2 separate regions of the Homo sapiens genome follow, and region 1 is linked to region 2. Evidence: promoter capture Hi-C in human tissues and cell types (Jung and others, 2019). All regions are on one chromosome and are shown on one strand. Each heading gives the region's core, a stretch centred on a gene start or on the middle of the fragment in contact. The rest is flanking DNA. Distances are from core to core; before and after follow the strand shown. Region 1 has its middle 7.1 kb from the start of HTR1D. Region 2 holds the start of LUZP1 (leucine zipper protein 1).

Region 1 (4,921 bases), core at 266-2,765, 55 kb after region 2:
GTGATTCTCATGCCTCAGCCTCCCGAGTAGCTGGGATTACAGACACGTGCCATCACGTCTGGATAAATTTTTGTATGTTAGTAGAGATGGGGTTTCACCAGGTTGCCCAGGCTGGTCTTGAACTCCTGAGCTCATGTAATTCACCCGCCTAGGCCTCCCAAAATCCTGGGATTACAGGTGTGAGCCACCATGCCTGGCCTTTGTGTGTGTGTGTGCATGTGTGTGTATGTGTGTATGTGTGCGCCAAGCACTGCACTAAGGGCCTAACATGCATTCTCCTCTCCATTGCCCTCTGGGGAAAGTACTATTGTGTATTTCCACTCTATAGATGAAGGAACAGACTCAGAGATTAAGTAACTTTCTCTTGCAAGGGTAGTAACAGGACAAGGTCCTCAGTTACATCAGACTCCCCATGAATCAGGTATCTGTCTAGTCAACAAATAATTTGAGCATCTTCTCTTTACACATTGCTGTGGCAAGTGGGGTGGGCCAGTAAGGATAAGTAAGATGTGATTTCTACTTTGAAGAAGTTTCTAACTTGAAGACGGAGATGAAGGCTTCCTTATCTTTGTATTCCCAGTTCAGGGCCTGGCAATACAGTGACTGTTGAATAAAGCACAGGTCGTTAGAGCTAGAAGGGTCTTTGGAGTTTGAGTGTGTTAATCCTGTTAATTTACAGTTGGGAAAACTGAGACCTAGAAGGAGGAATTACCTGGAAAACACAGTTAGGAGAGGAGCTTGGGCTCTGCAGCCAGCCTACTTAGTTTGAATCTCAGCTCTACCACTTATTAGCTGTGTGACTTTGAGTTGGTCACTTAACCTCTCTGATTCTCAGTTTTCTTGTCCAAGAAAGAGGGAATAAAGTTGTGAGAATTAAGTGAGATCATCCATGCTTAGGGTTTAGTATCATCCTCATTATTATTATTGTTATTTGAGATGGGGTCTTATTCTGTCACCCAGGCTGGGGTGCAGTGGCACGTTCTCAGCTCACTACAACCTCCGCTTCCTGGGCTCAAGTGATTCTCCTGCCTCAGCCTCCTGACTAACTGGAACTACAGGCACACGCCAGCATGCCTAGCTAATTTTTTATATTTTTGGTAGAGATGGGGTTTTGCCATGTTGCCCAGGCTGGTCTGGAACTCCTGAGCTCAAGTGATCTGCCCACCTTGGCCTCTGAAAGTGCTGGGATTACAGACGTGAACCACTATGCCTGGCCCATTATTATTATCATTATTTTATTTTATTTTTTTGAGAAGGGGTATTGGGGGAACCTGCCCCCAATATTTCAGCATAGGTTCTTTCTATTTTCCCTAAGTGTTGGCTGGCCTGAGAAATAAAGAGGAAGAGTACAAAGAGAAGAGTTTTACAGCTGGGCCACTGGGGGTGACATCACTTATCAGTAGGTCTCTGATGCTCACCTGAGCTGCAAAACCAACAAGTTTGTATTAGGGATTTCAAAAGGGGAGAGGGTGTACGAACAGGGAGTAGGTCACAAAGATCACATGCTTCAAAGGGCAAAAAGAGAACAAAGATCACATGCTTCTGAGGAAACAGGGCAAGGACAAAAGCAAAGATGACAAGGCAAAGGGCAAAATTAGAATTACTGATGAGGGTCTATGTTCAGCTGTGCACATATTGTCTTGATAAACATCTTAAACAACAGAAAACAGGGTTTCAGAGCAGAGAACCAGTCTGACCTCAAATTCACCAGGGTGGGGTTTTTTTCCTACCCTAATAAGCCTGAGAGTACTGCAGGGGACCAGGGCATATTTCAGTCCATAGGACAGACACTCTCAGAGTGGGCATTTATAGACCTCCTCCCAGGAACGCAATTCTTTTCCCAGAGTATTAATTATCAATATTCCTTGCTGGGAAAAGAATTTAGCAATAGCTCTCCTACTTGCACATCCGTTTATAGGCTCTCTGCAAGAAGAAAAATATGGCTCTTTTTGCCCGACCCCGCAGGCAGGCAGACCTTATGGTTGTCTTCCCTTGTTCCCTAAAAATTGCTATTATTCTGTTCTTTTTCAAGGTGCACTGATTTCATATTGTTCAAACATACATGTTTTACCATCAATTTGTACAGTTAGATACAATTATCACAGTGGTCCCGAGGTGACATACATCCTCAGCTTACGAAGATAACAGGATTAAGAGATTAAAATAAGACAGGCGTAAGAAATTATAAGAGTATTATTTGGGAAGTGATAAATGTCCACATTAAAATGAAATCTTCACAATTTATGTTCAGAGATTGAAGTAAAGACAGGCATAAGAAATTATAAAACTCTTAATTTTGGGAACTGATATATGTCAATATTAAAATGAAATCTTCACAATTTATGTTCTTCTGCCATGGCTCCAGTCGGTCCCTCTGTTTGGGGTCCCTGACTTCCCGCAACAAAGGGGTTTTACTCTGTCATCCAAGCTGGAATGCAGTGGCTCAATCATAGCTCACTGCAGGCTCAAACTCCTAGGCTCAAACAATCCTCCTGCCTCAACCTCCCAAGCAGCTGGGACTACAGGCACATGCCACCACAACTGGCTAAATTTTAAATTTTATGTAGAAATAGGATCTCCCTATGCCCAAGCTGGTCTCAAACTCCTGGACTCAAGAGATCCTCCCATCTCAGCTTCCCAAAGTGTAGGATTACAGGCATGAGCCACCACACCCAGCATGTGTGGGGTTTAGCATAACGCTTAGCACACAATCCCGCAATACATTTTGCTCTGATTACTATTAAACAATTGCATAGTGAGTTAGTAACTCAGGGCTTCCTGACTCCCAGTCCAGTGCTCTTTCCAGTTCCCCATGGTTCCTGCATCTACTGGAGTATAATCAGGGGAGGTGTGGGGGTGGTATGTGTGTGATCACATGTCCGCTGTCCTTGGGGACAAGTGCCTTGTGTCCCCCAGCCCATATCTCAGTGCCTCTCGCCATGCCTCTTCTCTGTCTTTGAAGCCTTCCCCGTTCTCCCCCCTTGACCAGAGTCCAGAGACTCAACCCTAAATGAAACACGCAATGAAATGCCTGATAACATCCTTTCACCTCCCATTGCAATTTCCTCTGGGCCAGATGGGGTGAGGCTGAGCCTGGGAAGGAGCCAACAGGAAATTCCCGGGGAGCAGCAAGGGATGGGTGTCCAAGGGCAGTCAGTGATACCATCTCCAGCATCGAGCCTCTGAGCCAGGAAGAGACAAGTCTCGCAGGAGAGGTTTTGCTGTTTGTTTTCCTCGGGCTTGACTTCTAACGAGAGAATTTAATTAAGAGCTCGATTGCCTCGCCTGGGGAATAGGAATCCGAGGGGATGGCAGAGCTGAGGCCGGTGGCCGAGGGGAAGGGAGGGAGGGGCCTCTTTGGACTCAGATTGAACTGTGATGGGCTTAAACTGCCCCAGAGAAGTTCGGCTCACAGGGTCTTTTGGTCTAATCCCAAAACAAGATTCTTCTCCTACAGGAACTTGTAAGTTTTAGATTCTGTGGTGCAAATTAAAAGACATTTAAACCAGTCAAGGAAACAGGCAAAGTTTGATATTCCCAATTGTTCCCACTCACACTGTTAAAGAAAAAATTATTCTTATTAATAATAAGGCAATGGTGGGCTGGGCATGGTGGCTCACACCTGTAATCCCAGCACTTTGGGAGGCCGAGGCAGGTGGATCACTTGAGGTCACGAGTTTGAGACCAGCCTGGCCAACATGGTGAAACTCTCTCACCTGGGCCTCCCAAAGTGCTGAGATTGCAGGCATGCACCACACCATACCCGGTTCCCCCGGACCTAGAAGGAGGCCTGCACACATTAGACCCACAGTAAGTATTATTTCCTGAATGAATAAAATAATATAAAGCAGGCTTATTAGTTTCCTCACAGGACTGTGTGAGGTTTCCAGTTTGTTCACAACCCAACTCCTCCCTCCCCTGCTCATCTGCGAAATGAGCATAGTAAAAGTATTTACCTGTGTTGGCAGGCGCATGTGAAACCATGCCGGTCAAGTGTTTAGCATGGGCCAGGTGCATAGTAAGTGCCCCAGAAAAATCAGGGGGTTGAATAGACAGTAAAGGTTTACTCCACACTTGTGTGTGATATGGAGAAAACTCCAGAACTCAGGTATAGGATGCAGGAAGACAAGGGTCTGCAATGGGGGAGTCCAGGCAGGAGGCTGTCGCGAGAGGTGTGGGTCCTGACTCCAGGCAGTGGTGTGGGGAAAAAGATGAGGAGACAAAAATTAGGACTATTTCTGAGAAGTTCACTAGTTTTTTGTTTGTTTGTTTTGTTTTGTTTTGTTTTTTGAGACAGAGTCTTGCTCTGTCACCCCGGCTAGAGTGGGTGATCTCGGCTCACTGCAACCTCCGTCTCCCGGATTCAAGCGATTCTCCTGCCTCAGCCTCCCAGATTCAAGCGATTCTCCTGCTTCAGCCTCCCAAGTCGCTGGGACTACAGGTGTGCATTACAATGCCCAGCTAATTTTTGTATTTTTAGTAGAGACCGGGTTTCACCATGTTGGCCAGGCTGGTCTCAAACTACTGACCTCAAGTGATCCCCCCACCTCGGCCTCCCAAAGTGCTGGGGTTACAGGCATGAGCTACCATGCCTGGCTGAAGTCCGCTAGGTTCTAACTGGACTGATCCCAGACTTAGGGAGAGACACAGAGAGCATCCTCAGATAACCCCACCACCTTCCAGTCTTGTAAGTCACCCCCCATGTATTGGGCTAACAGAGTATTCCAGGACAACACTCCTCTGAACATTTCAATCAATAAGAGAAGGCACTGAGGTCACTCAGGGAAACAGAGGAAGCTAGGAAGTTGCAAGCACTGCTTCCCTCTCTGCTATGTTCTTCCGCACCAGGCACAGCACTTAAGTAATTCCTTAATTAATCTATATAACAGCCTTTGGGGAGGGGATTATCATGCCCCATGCC
Region 2 (4,897 bases), core at 1,038-3,537:
AGCTTAAACATGAGAGGCGGAGGTTGCAGTGAGCCGAGATCGCACCACTGCACTACAGCCTGGGTGACACAGAGCACTCCGTCTCAAAAAAAAAAAAAAAAAAAAAAAAGGGATGCTAACTACCACCTCACAAAATTCTTGGGAAGACTGCCTAAGATCTATACCACCTAGCATAATTACTGGGTACAGAATAGGCAACTCAACAACATTAGTTCCTTTTCTTGGTCTTAAATTATTTAAGATTAAGAAAACACCTCATAATCAACGAAGGCTAATTAACAATCCGCATTATTAATCACTGGTCAACAATGAACCTGTGTTTGCTGCCTTCTTCATACTCCAACCCATTCCCTTCCCAGCTCACTATTTCCAGCTTTTCAAACTTTAGTTACTATGTTTAGAAAAGTGATTTAATTTTAGAAACCTGGAAAATTCTTCTAGGAGTAAATTCTTCTAGGAGTAAATTGAGCAAAACCTTAATCTGCCCCCAGGGGAATTCTGAGCAAAACAATTATTTCTGACAAAAGAAGAATTTTCTATGGGGGTAATTCAATTTAACCACATGAATACTACCAAAGTTGCAAACAAGGTGACAGAAGGCAATCTGGAACACACCTTCCAGATTCCCCAAAAAGAAATGTCCTCCTAAAATCCAAACCCCTCCCTCCCTAATTTGAGGTAGTCAAATCTTATTAGGTGATCTGAATTCTCCCGGCTCTGACACCAGTCCAGCTCCTTAGGCCAGAACTGCAGCCGTCTGTAAAAGAAATACCCTGAGCAAACCCCACCCCTCAAAACATCCCCAAAAGGCAGGGAGGTCCAGAGAGTATTTTCTCCTCCAACGACAGATAAGGCACCAAGGGCTCAGCAGCGCAATCCTTCTCCCAAGGTCATTCAAGTCAGTGAAGGTGCGACGGTGGAGCTGCAGGCAGTCTGGCCTTCTGGAAATCACACTACAGGGGTTTTGGGGGTGCCTACTCTCTTCCCCTCTCCCACCCGCAAGGGTGAGCACTGGCCTCGGCATTCCCGAAACAAGCCACAACAAGCTCTGCAGTGTTAGGAAAGGGGTTGACGCGATGAAGAAACAGATGCTCCAAAGCAAGATGGTCTTTCTCGGCTCACAGAGGCTCCTCCAAGGTTATGCACAGAAACCGCAGCCACCTCCAAGAGCTCTAAACCGGGCTCCGAAGCCCCAGCGCGGCCGCTGCGGGTCGCCAGGTTCCCTGCAGGCAGGCTCCGCAGCCAGAGGCCACCAGCCCCAGAAACCGCACTTCATTCCTGCGCTCCGGGAAGCCATGGCTCCTTCCCTGCCCGGGCGGCTGGGCGGGGGCCGGGGGTGCGCCGGGAGGCGGGCCCCGCGCTGCGGAAAGTTCACCGCGGCGGGCGGGGGGAGGCCCCGGCCCCGCTCGCCGGCGTCCCCCTGCAGATTCCACCATTAATTAGTCCTAAGGACTGTCTACTGGCAACTTAAACAAAGCGAATGCCTCGAATTCCTTCCCGGCCCAGCGGTCTGGCTGCGAGACCAGCAGAGCGCCCGGGACGCGGGCCGGCGCGGCCGACAGCTGCGGCGGCCGCGGGACCCCTCCCCGCCCGGCCCGCGGCCCGCGCCCCGCGCCCGCAGCTGGCCCCGCACGCCGGCCCGACGCGCTCCCAAACCGCCCTCCTCCTCCTGCTGCTGCAGCTCCCGGGCCCTTCCTGTCTGATCACTTCCTTCCTCCGGTGCCCGCCGGGCCCCGCGCAGCCCCCTCCACGGCCGCCTCGTCGCCCCCCGCCCCTGTCGGCCCGCGCCCCCTCCCCCAACCCCAAACTCTACCCCCGAAACTCTTCGCCGCCCCCTCGAAAATGTCTCCTCCGCGTCTCTGCCCCAAACATTTCTCCTCAGAGTCTCGCTCCCACCAAGAAGTCTCCTCAGAACCTTCCCTCCCCCTCCCGAGGAAAAATCTCCTCAGAGTCTCTTCCTCCAACTCCACAAACATGTGCTGGGTCTCGCCCCAAAAGGTCTCCTCCTGAGCCCTTCCTCCAAAATCCATTCCAACTCTCCCCCAACTCCACACCCCATCTCTCCTCGGCTGCGCCCGCGGTTTCTTCTGCCCCGTGGCCGCGGGTGCCCCGACCTCACCCGGGACCGGCCTCCCAACCCCGCCGCCCTCCCCTCCCCGCGCCGCGCTCCCGCCGCCGCCGCCTCACGGACCCTCACCTCTGCGGCCCCGAACCGCGCTCCCGCCAGCGAAGGGTTCCGCCGCTCAGCTGCCAGCGACCGGCGCCTCCTCTGGCTCCGCGGGACTGACAATGAGGGGCGGGGCCAAATTGTGACGTCAGCGTTCTGGAAGGCGGGGTCTTTGTGATGGGCGGGGTTGTCTGTAGGCCCCGCCCCCTCCGTCCTTTTTTTCCCTTCCCAGGACTTAGACTCCACCAAGTTTTTATTGCCTCCGTAGCTGGGTCCTGTGCTAGGCGCCCTGGGAAATCGAAATGGAAGACAAGACTTCTCGATTTCAGGAGGGACACTTTCGGCCCGCGTGGTGGCTCAAGTCTGTAATCCCAGAACTTTGGGAGGCTGAGGCGGACGGATCGCTTAAACTCAGAAGTTCGAGACCAGCCTGGGCAACATGGCGAAACCCCATCTCTATAAAAAATACAAAAATTAGCCGGGAGTGGTGGCGCCCGCCGGTAAGCTAAAGTAGGAGGATCGCTTGAGCCGAGGGAGGTCGAGGCTGCAGTGAGCCGTGATCGTGCCACTGCACTCCGGCGTGGGTGACAGAGTGAGACCCTGTCTCAAAAGAAAAAGAAAAAAGCGGGACACTCTCAGTAGGGTTGTGAGGATTAAATGAGATAATCAATGGAAAGGTGCTTAGCCTAGAACCTGATATGGAATAATCACTCAACAAATCCTATTTCTATTACTCTGCAAATGCAGAGAAGGAACTCAGCTCAGACTCGGGAGGCATGGGTTCCCGTCCCCCACTGTGCTATTAATTCTTTGTGTGATGCTAGACAAGTACTTTCCCATCTATGTTCCCGATTTTCATCTTCTTTAAAATGGGAAGGGGGAATAACCAGATGATCTCAAAATCCCCTCCCATACTTCTATGACATACTTCCTTTAAGTCTACTATCTAAAAGGCACCTAGTGCCCTGAGAAGCCAGGAGGAAGGCTTCAAAGACAGCCCAAGACCCACACCCAGCATAGTACAGGACACAGCCAGAGACTGCTCTCGCTGCGGATGCCCTCCCACACGCTGGCACGCAGCAGCATTCACAAGCCAGGACACAGATGGGCTGAGGGCTGCTTCCTCTCTGACTACAGCAGCATGGTTGGTCTCTTGAGACATCTCTTGTGTAAGCTCTTTATTGCCTATGGAATAAAGGCCAAAGCCCTGGCCTGGTATGATCACTTCCTACCTTTACACACACACACACACACACACACACACAAAGTTTATCCAAACTTCTCTTAGCACACCCACTGCTTTCCCACATTTGACCCTTTGCTGAAGCTCTTCCCCTGCTGTCTCACCTCCCAGCTTCTCCCAGCCAGAAAGCAATCCTCCCTGTTCTGAATAACCAATAACATTGTGTTTAACCCTCACGTGGGCATGAACACTACAACTTATAAAGAACTGACCTCCCATTTGTTTCTTAGCACTTCCTGGAGGTCAGAACCCACACATGTTTGTGGAGCTCAAGCTCTGATGCCAGAAAACCCTGGGATCATATGTTCTGGGGTCATAATAGCCATCTCTGAGCCTGTCTTCTCATCTATAAAATGGGGATAATAATATAGTCTTGTGGTGTTTGTTTTAAAATTACCTAAGATACTGTATGGAAAACATCAGGCACAGTGTTCCACAAACAATATGAACAATATGATTGTCATTCTTATTTTCTTTTTCTTTCTTTTTTTTTTTTTTTTTTTTTGAGACGAATTTTCTCTCTTGTCGCCCAGGCTGGAGTGCAGTGGCACGATCTCAGTTCACTGCAACCTCTGCCTTCCAGGTTCAAGAGATTCTCCTGCCTCAGCCTCCCAAGTAGCTGGGATTACCGGCACTTGCCACCACACCTGGCTAATTTTTGTATTTTTAGTAGAGACGGTGTTTCACCATGTTGGCCACGCTGGTCTCGAACTCCTGACCTCAGGTGATCCACTCACCTTGGCCTCCGTAAGTGCTAGGATTACAGACGTGAGCCACCACATCAGGCCCCTGTCATTCTTATTTTCAGTAGTATTATATTGACCAGGCGCGGTTGCTCATGCCTGCAATCCCACCACTTTGGGAGGATCACTTGAGTCCAGGGGGATGGATCACTTGAGTCCAGGAGTTTGAGACCAGCCTGGGCAACATGGCAAAACCCCGTCTTTACAAAAAATACTAAAAATTAGCCAGGCCTGGTGGTGCCCGTGCAGTCTCAGCTACTCAGGAGGCTGTGGTGGGAGGATCCCTTGAACCTGGGAGGTGGAGGCTGCAATAAGCCATGATAATGCCACCGCACTACAGCCTGGTGACAGATCGAGACCCTGTCTCAAAAAAAAAAAATATATATATATATATATAATTACTGTATGATTTATATATGTATTTTTATATATAACTACTATAATCAGTATTATTTCTAGTTATTAACACCACACAGCACCTCATAACAATCCACCTAATCATTTCATATGGAAGACTTTAGGGTCTTGAGAAAGGAAGAGGCTTGCTGAAAGTGGCCCTGCAAAGCATTCCCATTGGAATGGAAACCAGCACTCCAGTCTGCAGACCCCAGATGGATTCAGCAGAGTCACATCTGATGATGCCCCAGGGCATCTCTGCCATTCAGCATGCCTCCAAGCTGGGGTCAGCGTGTAGTTCTCTCTGAGAGTTCTTTGCAGCACAGCTGACCCATTTCTGCTTCATGC

What was found. Contacts are between HindIII fragments. The study calls those that stand out against the background at their distance.
Region 1: a fragment that was not itself captured here is called in contact with the fragment with the promoter of LUZP1 in region 2 in 2 of the 25 tissues and cell types used here (H1 embryonic stem cells and neural progenitor cells).

The regions. Positions count from the first base shown.
Region 1 is chr1:23,222,127-23,227,047 of GRCh38, forward strand. No RefSeq gene overlaps it. Among named protein-coding and RNA genes, the nearest start is that of HTR1D, 7.1 kb to the left of the region's middle. The HindIII fragment of the contact is 4,643 bases long and covers 1-3,837 here.
Region 2 is chr1:23,166,569-23,171,465 of GRCh38, forward strand. LUZP1 (leucine zipper protein 1) reads right to left here and starts at 2,288. Exons shown (of 4, transcript NM_001395462.2): 1 at 2,198-2,288. RefSeq lists enhancers at 994-1,525, 1,526-2,057, 3,133-3,182 and silencers at 1,297-1,436, 2,428-2,487. The HindIII fragment of the contact is 15,099 bases long and covers 2,080-4,897 here.